Linked DNA regions of Homo sapiens: region 1 is linked to region 2. The links are contacts of gene promoters, found by promoter capture Hi-C in blood cells and fetal thymus (Javierre and others, 2016). All regions are on one chromosome and are shown on one strand. Each heading gives the region's core, a stretch centred on a gene start or on the middle of the fragment in contact. The rest is flanking DNA. Distances are from core to core; before and after follow the strand shown.

Evidence for each region. The method cuts DNA at HindIII sites, captures the fragments that hold promoters and counts their contacts. A CHiCAGO score of 5 or more calls a contact.
Region 1: a contact is called between the fragment with the promoter of SPIRE1 here and a fragment that was not itself captured in region 2, in 1 of 17 cell types (monocytes). The highest score is 5.3, in monocytes.

The regions. Positions count from the first base shown.
Region 1 is chr18:12,655,567-12,661,793 of GRCh38, reverse strand. It overlaps SPIRE1 (spire type actin nucleation factor 1), which reads left to right and starts at 3,687. Exons shown (of 17, transcript NM_001128626.2): 1 at 3,687-4,264. The coding sequence starts at 3,928. It also overlaps a transcript of PSMG2 not described here. RefSeq lists silencers at 3,228-3,377, 3,428-3,497, 3,500-3,668, 3,538-3,957, 4,148-4,267. The HindIII fragment of the contact is 7,532 bases long and covers 1-6,227 here.
Region 2 is chr18:12,942,641-12,949,202 of GRCh38, reverse strand. SEH1L (SEH1 like nucleoporin) reads right to left here and starts at 1,192. Exons shown (of 9, transcript NM_001013437.2): 1 at 971-1,192. The coding sequence starts at 1,081. RefSeq lists an enhancer at 12-613 and silencers at 545-644, 655-1,004, 1,045-1,494. The HindIII fragment of the contact is 954 bases long and covers 2,235-3,188 here.

The DNA of each region.
Region 1 (6,227 bases), core at 2,438-4,937, 290 kb after region 2:
ATTTTTTTTTTTTCTCTTTGAGACGGACTCTCACTCTGTCACCCTGGCTGGAGTGCAGTGGTACAATCTTGGCTCACAGCAATCTCCACTTCCTGGGTTCAAGCGATTCTCCTGCCTCAGCCTCCCGAGTAGCTGGGATTACAGGCATGCATCACCATGCCTGGCTAATTTTCTTTGCATTTTTAGTAGAGACGAGGTTTCACCATGTTGGCCAGACTGGTCTCGAACTCATGGCCTCAAGCGATCTGCCTGCGTTGGCTTCCCAAAGTGTTGGGATTACAGGTATGAGCCACTGCGCCTGGCCTCAAATCTTTGAATTTGAATTGAAAATGAGAAAATGGGACAGTGCTGTTATTCCACAGGGGTGCTAGAACTCCACTGAGAAGATATCAATGGCTGGTAGCCTTTGAGTGGTCAGCAGTCACTTTCAGAGTGTTGTGATGATGGATGACGGTAAGGCTTATCAATTTTTTTTCTTCTTTTTTGAGATGAAGGCTCACTCTTGTCACCCAGGCTGGGGTGCAATGGCGTGATCTCGGCTCACTGCACGCTCCGCCTCCCGGGTTCAAGTGATTCCCCTGCCTCAGCCTCCCGAGTAGCTGGGATTACAGGTGCCTGCCACCATGCCCAGCTAATTTTTGTATTTTTAGTAGAGACAGGTTTTTGCCATGTTGGCCAGGCTGGTCTCGAACTCCTGACCTCAGGTGATCTGCCCGCCTCGGCCTCCCAAACTGCTGGGATTACAGGCGTGAGCCACCATGCCTGGCCAGCTTATCAAAACTTTAAGGAGTACTGAAAATCATTTAGAAGTTAGTAAGTTATAGTCTTTATACAAAAAAGAGTCAAGTGTTCATGTTGTATAACTACACTTAGAAGACAGCTAGGATTTTAAAGATTTTCCTTTATTTTGTGTAGAGAAGAAACATCACACAATATTCTACTTGTCATCTTTCCTCAACTTAATTACATATATGCTCACACAGGCAAAATATTTAAGTATATCATACCATGAATTGTTACTTGGCAATAAAAAAAAAAGCCCTTCTGTTGGATATAACTGTCTTGTGATACAGTGCAGTAATGTCTCCCTCTCAAAATGTGTATATGTTAAAAAAAATCATCACTCAAGGAAAATCCTAGTGTTGCAAATTTGTTTTTAAGAATGTATCTTTTGGCCGGGCACAGTGGCTCACACCTGTAATCCCAGCGCTTTTGGAGGCTGAGGCGGGTGGACCACTGAAGTCAGGAGTTTGAGACCAGCCTGGCCAACATGGTAAAACCCTGTCTTTACTAAAAATACAAAAATTAGCCAGGCATGGTAGCGTGTGCCTGTAATCCCAGCTACTCGGGAGGCCGAGGCACGAGAATCATCTCAACCCAGGAGGCGGAAGTTGCAGTGAGCTGAAATCGCGGCACTGACCCTAGCCTGGGAGACAGGGTGAGACTCTGTCTCAATTAAAAAAAAAAAAAAAATGCATCTTTTTCCATTGATTAGAGGGATGACTAAAAAAAGAAGAATGCATCTTTTAAAAGATAAAGTTTGGATTTCCTTTACTCACTTCCTCCTTCCCTGTATTGTTGTCTTCAAGATTTATTTACTGCTCTATGCCAGGGTTAGCAGGTTAATGGCTCATAGATTCCTCAGTTTATTAACCCATTTATCTTGTTTACTGGTGGGTAAGGCAAAGATAAAAATGTGTTTGGCTGTAGTTGTCCAAGTGCAATGGGCAGCAGTATCCCATAAGGCCAGGAGGTGGTAGTGTTGTCCATAAAAGTAGACCTTCATTTTTTTTCCTGGATTGTTCAAAATATTTTAAACCAGTCTGTATTTGCAAAATCCACACAGGATAAACTTTTGAAATAGCAAAATTTGGGAATGTTTGTCTGTTTTTAATCAAGAGGACAGAGATATATTTATATGTATATAGTGTCACACATAAGGAATTACATGTTTGCCTCTCTGGGCTTTGGCACACATAGATACTGCATTGCTACAAATGAGATTATGAACCTATAATTAAGTGATGCTACTTTAAGGGGTTGTTTTGTCTCTCTCGTACTGAAATTATAATAAGTTGCCTGGGGAGCTTTCTTCTCCTCTTTCAATTTATTATTTATTTTTTTGAGACAGACTCTCGCTCTGTCCCCCAGGCTGGAGTGCAGTGGTGTGATCTTGGCTCATTGCAACTTCCACCTCCCAGGTTCAAGCGATTCTCCTGCCTCAGCCTCCCGGGTAGCTGGGATTACAAGCGTGCGTCACCACACTCGGCTAATTTTCTTTGTATTTTTAGTAGAGACAGGGTTTCCCCATGTTGGCCAGGCTGGTCTCGAACTCCTGACCTCAGTGATCTGCCCGCCTCAGCCTCCCAAAGTGCTGGGATTACAGGCCTAAGCCACTGCGCACGGCCCTCTTTCAATTTCTTAATTTTCCTTTTCGTCCTGTTGCTTTTCTCCCTCCTCCCCATTCCCAGCTGTATGTAAGATGGTATCTCATTTTAATAGACTGTTGTTATTTAAATAGACTGTTGTAGTTTCTACCGCAAGATGCAATTGTTGAGAGCGTGATTTCTAACATTTTACATAAAACTGCCGTAAAAGGTTTACTGGAACTTAATATACATTGCCTATTTGGTTGATGCTTTCAACACTCTGTAGGGCTTTCACACAGGACTAGCCTCAGTGGAATTTTATCGATTAAATTAATCTACCAATGGGTGATTAAGAATTATCTGTTTTATTGCATATTTAATAGGTTGGGGGGGCGGAATTCTTTCTTTCTACGGCTAATTGCCCTCAGTTCAATTTTACCACTGTGATATTCATTCCACATGCTCTGATGAGTGTGGTACTTGAGACATTACCTTAGTGAGGGAAGGGACCAATGTTACAAATGAATCCGGAAGGACGCTAAAACTAACACCTGCAAATTATGTACATGTTTATATTCCAGGCGCTGGTTTAGCTTTTGGGAGAAGTCAGTGAGGAAAACCCGTAAAGATCCCCGTCTTTACGGTGCTTACCCTGAAGATGGGAGTGGAGAGGGAGGTATTCAACCAGCAAGAAATCGGAAAACGCGCAGAGCGGCCGCGGGGTCACGGGAAACTGCCGGAGGCTTTCAGGGCCCAGGGCCCGGCGGGGAGGCTTCAGCGGGCCTGCATTTTCTTAGGCATCCGCTCCAGGCGGGTTCAAGTTTTCAACCAGACCTTCGGCGATCCAGCGCCTAGGGAACGTCAATGCGGGTGACTTCTCCCGCTGTGCAGGGCGGTGACCCGGGTTGGCGCGCCCAGTTCCCCGCCAGAGTCGGCCGGGGACTTCCCTGATAAATGCGACACCCTCTTGCCCCTGCGCCCCCCGACCGCGCGCCCGGCCCCGCGTGTCCCCCACGCCCCACAACCCTGCACGCCCTACCCGGCCGCGCATCCCCTCCGGACCGTGCGTCGCCGCCCTCACCATTGCGCCCCCAGCTGTGTGTCCCTTGCGACCGGGCCCCCCGACCGGGCGTCACCGCCTGCGACTCTGAGAGCCCTGCGGGCTAGAGACCGTGCGGCCATCTCGCCTCGAGGCGAGGCCCTCCTGCCTGGTCCTCACCTCCAGAGCGTGCATCCCCCGGCCCGTGCGGCCCCCTAAGGGGCGGGCGCTGGGCGGCGCTGGACGGCGCGAGGCGGGGCGGGGCGGGGCGGGGCGCCGGACGCCATCGCGTCGCTACCGGCCGGCGGCTGTCTGACCGGGACTGCAGCCGTGTCCTCGCCGCCCTCCTCTTGCCCACGCCTCCCGGGCACTCGCCTGGTCCCGGCGGCGGCGCGCGCGGCCGCGTTGGGCGGCGGCGGTTCCGGGGATGGTGAGGCGGCGGCGCGCGACGACGATGCTCCGGAGCTGAGGAGACGCCGGCACACGGCGCGACTGCCGAGCGCAGCGCCCACCCGCGGGATGGCTCAGGCGGCTGGCCCGGCGGGCGGCGGGGAGCCGCGGACTGAGGCAGTGGGCGGCGAGGGGCCGCGGGAGCCCGGGGCAGCCGGCGGCGCGGCCGGGGGCTCCCGGGACGCGCTGAGCCTGGAGGAGATCCTGCGGCTGTACAACCAGCCCATCAACGAGGAGCAGGCGTGGGCCGTGTGCTACCAGTGCTGCGGTTCCCTGCGCGCCGCCGCCCGCCGCCGCCAGCCCCGCCACCGTGTGCGCTCGGCCGCGCAGATCCGCGTCTGGAGGGACGGCGCCGTCACCCTGGCGCCCGCGGCCGACGACGCGGGAGAGCCGCCCCCAGTTGCGGGTGAGGCCGCCGGGCCCCTTTCCCTCGTAGTTCTTGGAACACCCGCGGCTGGGCCGCCTTACCCTCAGCGTCCCCGGCCCTTCCGCCCCCGCCGTCCCCCCCCATTTTGCCACGGGAGACCCCCGGGAGGATCCGGCGGGGACCCGCAGGGGAGGACGGCGTCAGGCCGTGGCTGGCCGGGGCCCCTCGGAGGTCAGAGCCTCGTGGCGGGCGACGGCGCAAATCCGCTGTGCGGAGGACGTTTGGGTGGGCCTGGGCCTGCGGGCCGCGGGGCGCTCGTCATTGTGCTGCCCGCGGGACAGCTGCCCGCGGCGCGTTTGGGAGCGGTGGGCTGGGCCCTGCTCCGGGCCAGCGGCCTGTGCGCCTCACGCCGTGGCTGCTGACACACGGCCGGGTTCACGGGGTGGGGAGGGCATCGCAGGCTTCACGCGGGGGCTCCGCACGGATCCTCAGTGCCGCTGTCGGAAACACCGCACTCCTCACGGGAAACTAGCAGTATTCCACATTAGACAGCCTTTCCTCGGTTCGGAAATGTAAAGATGATTCTGAACCGTGAGAATTCTGCTCTTTGGGGAGAAATGGAAAAATAGACTAAATAGTGATTTTTGGCTCCTGGACGTTAGAAAATACTGATTGCATTCCTGTATGTGAAAATTTGTTGTGATGAAAAACAGGCTTGTAAAGTGAAAAGTTGACAGGATGTCGGGATACAAAGAGAAAATGGGCCTTAGTTACGTCATTGTCTAATGTAAAATTTTCAGGATTATGACCTAAACAGTAATTTATAGCCAGGGTTTACTCAGATGCTCATTGAAGAGGAGGAGGAGGTTGAGAAAAGGTTTCTCCCATCAGTTTTTATCTAATTCATTCTTTTGAGAGGCAAGTCTATTAAAAACATAGAAAAACAATCTACCCTCACTTTTAGAAAGTTGATGGAAATGTCAAAATGCTTAAGGTGAAAGATGTAATTTCGAATTAGTAAAATGACATTTAATGAAAACCCTTGTCTAACTTGATTAAAACAATATTCAAGGTTATAGTTATTCTTTCAGTTCCACCAGAACGTTTTTATCTTTTATTTTTTAGTGTCAGGTAAACACATTTTTATTTACATGCTTTTATCTTTTATTTTTTAGCGTCAGGTAAACGATTTTTTATTTAAAGCCATCTTTTTAATTGTTCTTTTGAAACTATTTCAAATAGTATTTTTGTTTCTTTGATGGGCTTATTGCTTTTAAACTTGGACTTAATCTTAGTGGGAAATACTTGCAATTATAATTTATAGTGTATTAAATGGTACAAAAGATACATTTATAAAATACAGCAATGTCTGCCAGGTGCGGTGGCTCAAGCCTGTAATCCCAGCACTTTGGGATGCCGAGGCAGGTGGATCACCTGAGGTCAGGAGTTCGAGACCAGCCTGGCCAACATGGTGAAACCCCGTCTCTATTAAAAATACAAAAATTAGCCGGGCGTGGTGTTGTGCCGCTGGAATACCAGCTACTCGGGAGGCTGAGGTGGGAGAATTGCTTGAACCTGGGAGGTGGAGGCTGTAGTGAGCTGAGATCGCGCCACTGCACTCCAGCCTGGGTGACAGAGCGAGACGCCGTCTCAAAAAAAAATACAGCAATATCGTGCCTTGGGATTTAGCTATTTCCAGAGGAAAAATGGTTGTGTGCAGCCTGCTTTTAGAAGCAGCGTTGGTAGTGGTGATTTCCGGAGAGAACAAGCCCCCAGTTTACATTGTCTTGTCACTTAAATTTAATCCCAAAATCGTGTAGTTTTGTTGTCAAAGATTGATAGATTCTCGTGGATGGGTTTTTTCTTTTTTTTTGGTCTGAATCTTATGTTGAATTGGATTATTTTTTACATCACTAGTGTGAGTGATAACATGTTGATCTCAGTGTAATAAACTGCCTTTATGGAGAAAATAGTGAGTGGAGTTGTTCTCCACAATTCGCAA
Region 2 (6,562 bases), core at 1,462-3,961:
TCATGTAGCATCCCCACATTAGAAATTCTGCTTGTAGGCCGGGCGCGGTGGCTCACGCCTGTAATCCCAGCACTTTGGGAGGCCGAGGCGCCGAGGCGGGTGGATCACGAGGTCAGGAGTTCGAGACCAGCCTGGCCCACATGGTGAAACTCTGTCTCTACTAAAAAATACAAAAAAAAAAAAAGATTAGCCGGGGGTGGTGGCGTGCACCTGTAATCCCTGCTACTTGGGAGGCTGGGGCAGGATAATCGCCTGAAAGCGGGAGGCGGACGTTGCAGTGAGCCGAGATCGTGCCATTGCACTCCAGCCTGGGTGACAGAGTGAGACTCGGTCTCAAAAAAAAAAAAAAAAAAAGAAAAGAAATTCTGCTTGTCGGAAGTGTCTACAGACGTTTACGGGAACTTCAAGAAACAAACCCTCCGATTCCTGGGCAGCAAGCAGGGAAATCATTGGATGTAAATGGTTTGTATTTTTCTTCCTCGGCGTAACAAAGTGAGCTTCTGCTCTGAACCCACGGAGAAAACCATGTGCCCTGGTGAGAGAACACCGGCGGGGCACAGAACTCGACGCAGCGCCAGCCAGGCAAAGTCTCCCACCAGGTCCCACTGCAGGTCGTCGGGTGAACAGCGCGGGCAAGACCCACGACGCCGAGGCTGACGGTGGGATGCCCCTGGGTTCCCGCCCGCAGCCCCGGCAGCGCGGCCTGGGAGAGGGCCCGGCGTACCCTGCGGGCGGGAGCGCGCACGTGGCACCAGCTGCGCAGGCGCACGGGAGGGCGGCCCGCGAGGCCGCCGTGACCCCACAATACGCGGGCGGGGAGGGCTTCCGCTCAGTCCAGCCAGGGCTCGCCCGCCACCCCACAGCTTCCAGCGGCGTCACTGAACCAAGACACAGCCCCGTTCCCCGCGCCGCCCACCCACTCCCCTTCCTTCCTTCCGGGGTCGGCCCCGCCCGCAAGCGCCGCGCGCACCTTAACGCTCTGATCGCTGGAGCAGGTTGCCATCCGCCGCCCGTGGAAGTCGAAAGAGACATCGTGGATGAGATCCTTGTGGTCCGCCGCGATGCTGCGAGCCACAAACATGGTTTCCGTCGGGCCCGCGCCTCCGAAGAGGACAGTGGCGGCGGCAGCGGCGGCGGCGCGTGGCCCGTAGCCTAGCCAGACCTCGCAGCCCGGGAGCGCACGGCTTGTGCTGCCCACGCCCCCGCACCGCCCCTGCCTATCAAGCCCCGCCCACACACCCTCCGGTCCTTCAAGCCCCGCCCCACCCACCGGCCCGTCAGGCCCCACACAGTCCCCTGGCCCCTCAAGCCCTGCCCACGCCCCGGCCCGTCATGACTCGCCCCACCTTCCGGTCCCTCAAGCCCCGCCCCGCCCCCAGGCCCGTCAAGCCCCGCCTACCCTCCCACCAGAGCCGTCATGCCTCGCCCCACCCTCCCGCCCCCTCAAGCCCCGCCCTGTTCCCGGCTCGTCAATCCTCGTCCCGCCCCCGGCCCGTCATGCCCTACGATCCTGGTGCGGGTTCCTCCAGGCTCTGACCGTTCGGCGGCGGAGGGTGCTCTGCAAAAGGCGAGTTACCTGTGCTGAGAAGTAGTAAGAGCTTATTGGTATACTGTGCAAATGAAGAAAGATGAAAAAGTGAAGACTGCCTCTCACGGTCCTCGGCCCTGAATCATTTAAGTCGACGTTTGGATGTGTTTCCCCCCAGACACATGCGAGGCGCGCGGAGCAGGTGGAGAAGACGAACCGTGGGTTTGGTCAGGAGCCGCGCTCCGTCGGGACGGCTGAAGAGCAGGGAGGGCCGGGGAGACGCCTGAGGGGATGACAAGCAGTCCAGGCTCGGCAGCCTAAGAGCGAAGGCTGGACGGGGAGGAAAGGATCAGAAGTAGTAGTTTAAATGTGTCAAGATTTTACAGGTAGAACAGGCCTGGGGGTGCTAGGAGCCACCACGGGGGTAGGGAAATAGTATGAATTAGAAGAGTCCGCCTGTAGAAACGTGTCATCCCGGGGGAAGGAAGCGGCCGGGGAAGTGGGCTGCTTGCTACCCGGGAGCCAGAGTCCTCCGGGGAAAAGGAAGTGAAGAGGGCCAGAGCCCCTGGGAAGAGGCCTGGCTCAGATCAAGGATTCTGCCAAAACCGGAAAGTGGAGGAGCCAACGACTCGGGGGGTTTTGCTTATCAGGAAAAGGCATTCTAGAGGGCGTAGTGGTAAAGTTAGGATGGGAGACAGTGGAAGCTTGCGTCAGGGGAGCGAAAGTACAGAAAAAAAAAAAATGAGGCTGCAGAAGGGACTTGCCCTTTGGATTTTGGCCAGGAATGACAAAAATGTGAGGTATGGTAAAATTAGCAGGCTGGAAAGTTTTTTAAATGATTAGTCCCAGCTGTCCCCTGATGGATTGCACAGAAACCTGCAAAGAGAAGTGGCGCAATGACCTGACCTTTTTCAACCATAAATAAGATTTTATTGCTACTTTAAGAGGTGGGCCCCACCTCTTATGATAACTGATAACAACTATAACTTTTTTGAAGGTCAAAGACACTCATTTCCAAAGAAAGTGCTCACTATAAAAGTCCAATCAAAATATATTGATTATTATAAAAATATCAAAACAGTTTAAAAATTGTTTTAATTAAATTTAAATACAGACAGTAAACAGATCATTGGTTGCCAGAGATTATCAGAGTGGGAGTGAAGTGTTGAATTAGGTGAAACAGTGGATTTTTTAAAATAGACTTTAGTTTTTAGAACACTTTCAGGTTCACAGCAAAATTGAGCAGAAAATAGAGTTCCCGTATGTACCCCTACTGTCACACATGCACAGCATCCTCCACTGTCAACATCCCATACCAAAGTGGTACCTTTGTTATGATCAGTGAACCTACATTGACACATCATTATCACCCAAAATTCAGAGTTTGCATTAGGGTTCACTCTTGGTGTTTTATTCTGTGGGTTTTGGCAAATATATAATGACATGGATCCACCATTATAGTATCACGCGGAATAGTTTGACTGCCCTGAAAATCCTTAGTGCTCCTGTTCATCCCTTTCTTCCGACAACACCTGGCAACCGCTGATCTTTCCACTGACTGCATGGTTTTGACTTTTCCAGAATGGCATATAATGGGAATCTTGGAGTGGCTAGCCTTTTCAGATTGGCTTCTTTCCTTATAGTAATATGCATTTAAGCTTTCTCCATGTCTTGTCTTGAGAGTTCATTTCTTTTTAGTGCTGAATAATATTCCATTGTCAGGCTGTAACAGTGTTTATTCATTCCCCAACTAAAGGGCATTCTGGTTGTTTCTGTGTTTGGGCAATTATCAATAAAGCTCCTACAAACATCTGTGTACAGGTTTTTGTGTGGACATGTTCGCAACTCCTTTGGGTAGATACCAAGAAGCATGATTGCTGGATCATATTGTAAGAGTAAGTTTAGTTTTGTTTTTTGGGGTTTTGTTTTGTTTTTTGAGACAGGGTCTCACTCTGTCATGGCAGACAATCGTGGCTCACTGCAGCTTTAAATTCCCTGGGTTCAGATGATCCTCCCACCTCAGCCTCCCGAGCAGCTGGGACTACAGGCACAGTGCCACCACACCCAGCTAATTTTTCTGTTTTTTGCAGAGATGGGGTTTCACCATGTTGAGCAGGCTGGTCTCAAACTCTTGGGCTCAAGCGATCCTCTTGCCTTGGCCTCCCAAAGTGCTTGGATTACAGGCATGAGCCACTGTGCCTGGCCTGGTTTTATAAGAAACTTACAAACTGTCTTCCAAAGTGGTCGTGTCAGCCAGGCCTGGTGGCTAAATTACCCTGTAATCCAGCACTTTGGGAGGCCGAGACGGGCAGATTATCTGAGCTCAGGAGTTCAAGACCAGCCTGGGCAACGTGGCGAGACCCGCTTCTCTACTAAAAATACAAAATAAAAATACAAAAAAATGCCCCAGGAGTGGTGGTGGAACCGAGATTGTGCCACAGGACTCCATCCTGGGCAACGCAGGGAGACACTATCTCAAAAAAAAAAAAAAAAGAGAGAGAGAATTTAACACAGGAAACTGGTTACATATATATCCAAGGGGTTAATTAAGAGCAAAAAGGGAACATGTGAGATTACCCAGAGACTAGTAACTACGGGAAACTCTGGGCTGGGAGCGTGAAAGGGAAAATAGTTTTACCCAGTGCTACCATCATTGACTCTGAGGCTGCTGACATTGGCACCTTTACCACCAGCAGGCAGAAAGCCAGGAGCCAATACTCCAGCTTACACTGCAGGCGTCCAACAGAGTAACAGCCATGGGAGCCCACAAGCTCTGAACAGCTGAGGTTCCTGGAGCCTCTGCTAGTACTGCTGGAGCTAGGGCTGAGTGCTGCTGCTACTGCTGCTGTTCACATCACCCCCGAGCAGGAAGCCAGGCTCACCCATTGCCACCACCACCACTACTCAGCTATGTGAGCTGCCTCCACAAATTGGAGAAAAGGTCTTCTTCCTCCTGCATCTGAATCCCCTACTGTCTCTCAATTCAGAACCTAACTAGAAATAGAGAGCTAATAAGAGTCTGGAAAAACAAGCTTGGAGGTTTCCAGTTCATATTCTGGAAAGAATACGACCTACAGTGAAGGCTGGGCGTGGCAGCTCACACCTGTAATCCCAACATTTTGGGAGGCTGAGGCGGGCAGATCACTTGAGGTCAGGAGTTCAAGACCAGCCTGGCCAACATGGTGAAACCCCGTTTCTACTAAAAATACAAAAATTAGCTGGGCGTGTTGGTGAGCGCCTGTAATCTCAGCTACTCAGGAGGCTGAGGCAGGAGAATCGCTCTAACCCTGGAGGCAGAGGTTGCAGTAAGCTGAGATTGCACCGCTGCACTCCAGCCTGGGCAACAGAGCGAGACTCCATCTCAAAAATATAAATAAATAAATAACCTACAATGAGTTAAGAAGCTTTCACATTTTTTTTCCTGCTCTGCGCCAGTTTAAATAGCATAGGAACTGAAAGATTCCTATGAAGATTTTGTAGAAGATTCCGTGAAGATTTTGTAGATGACGTTCACAAAATTTTATCAGCCTCATGCCTTGGGTGATGATAGGTATAGTTAATTTTAACTACCTTTTAAAATTATTTTATTCATGGCCTCTTCAGATTTTTTACCTTTTGTCAAGACAATTTTGATCATTTATATCTTCCTTTAAAAAATCAGCCATTTTGTGCTGGGCATGGTGGCTCATGCCTGTAATCTCAGCACTTTGTGAGGCCGAAGTAGAAGCATTGCTTGAGCTCAGGAGTTCAAGACCAGCCTGGGCAACATAGTGAGCCCTCGTCTCTACAGAAAACAAATTAGCCAGGTGTGGTGGTGCACGCCTGTATTTCAGCTACTCAAGAGGCTGAGGCAGGAAGAGGATCACTTGAGCCCAGGAGGCAGAGGTTGCAGTGAGCTGAAATCGTGCCACTGCACTCCAGCCTGGGCGACAGAGTGAGACACTGTCTCAAATAAATAAATAATCAGCCATTTCACTGAAATATTTAAACTTATTAATATAGAGTTATATATGTTAATGTCTTGCAATTTCTAAAGTCTCCATATCTGATGTAAGGCTTTTTTTCTTATTTCCATTGCTTTTTGTCTTACTGCCTTTGTCCTTAACATTTTGCTTTTTAATGAAGTATAATATAGATTCCAAAATGTACACGTATCACAAGTGTACACAGCTCACTGGATTTTCACAAACTGAACACATCTGTGCAGCCATCATCACCTCGAAAAAGGGAGCATGACTCACACCCTTAAAGCTCTCCTGTGGTCCCTTCTGGTCTTTACACCCCTCCCCAAGCAGTAACTACCGACCTCCTTCCTAACAGCATAGGTTGGTGTGATGATTAATTTTATGTGTCACCATGGTTAGGCTATGAAGCCCAGTTCTTTGCTCAAACACTAGTCTAGATGTTGCTATAAAGGTATCTTGTAGATGGGATTAACATCTGCAATCAGTTGTGTTCCGTGAAAGGGTCGTATTAATATATACAAAGCGACCCCCAACTGCCGAAGGAGCTGAGAAACCAAAGAAAGAGGCAGACAAATCCAGTTGGTCAGTTTTGGATGATTTATTAGGGGATTATATTTTGGGGGATTTATTAGGGGATTATATTTATTGACTTATTAGGGGAACTTACAGACAGAAGTCTTGGGTCTTGCGGTCTTGAGTGGCTGCAAGACAGGTAGATCTCCACTCCACAACCCCCCAGACACACAGCTTGGGAAAAATGCATACGTGCTCTGGAAGGAATGTATAGGTGGCTGTGGGTATCACAGCCTGTGATTTCTGCAACAACAAAGGTGGTTTTGGAGGCAACTTACAATAAATAGCTCTTCCTACATAAAGAGTAATACATCAACTAGACATTTTGGAGGCATTCTCAAACTCAGGGTTAGTGGGAACTTACATGGTAGATTGGCGTTTTAAATTGGCCAGGGGCGGTGGCTCACGCCTGTAATCCCAACACTTTGGGAGGCCGAGGCAGGCAGATCACGTGAGGTCAGGAGTTAAAGACCAGCCTGGCCAACATGGTGGAACC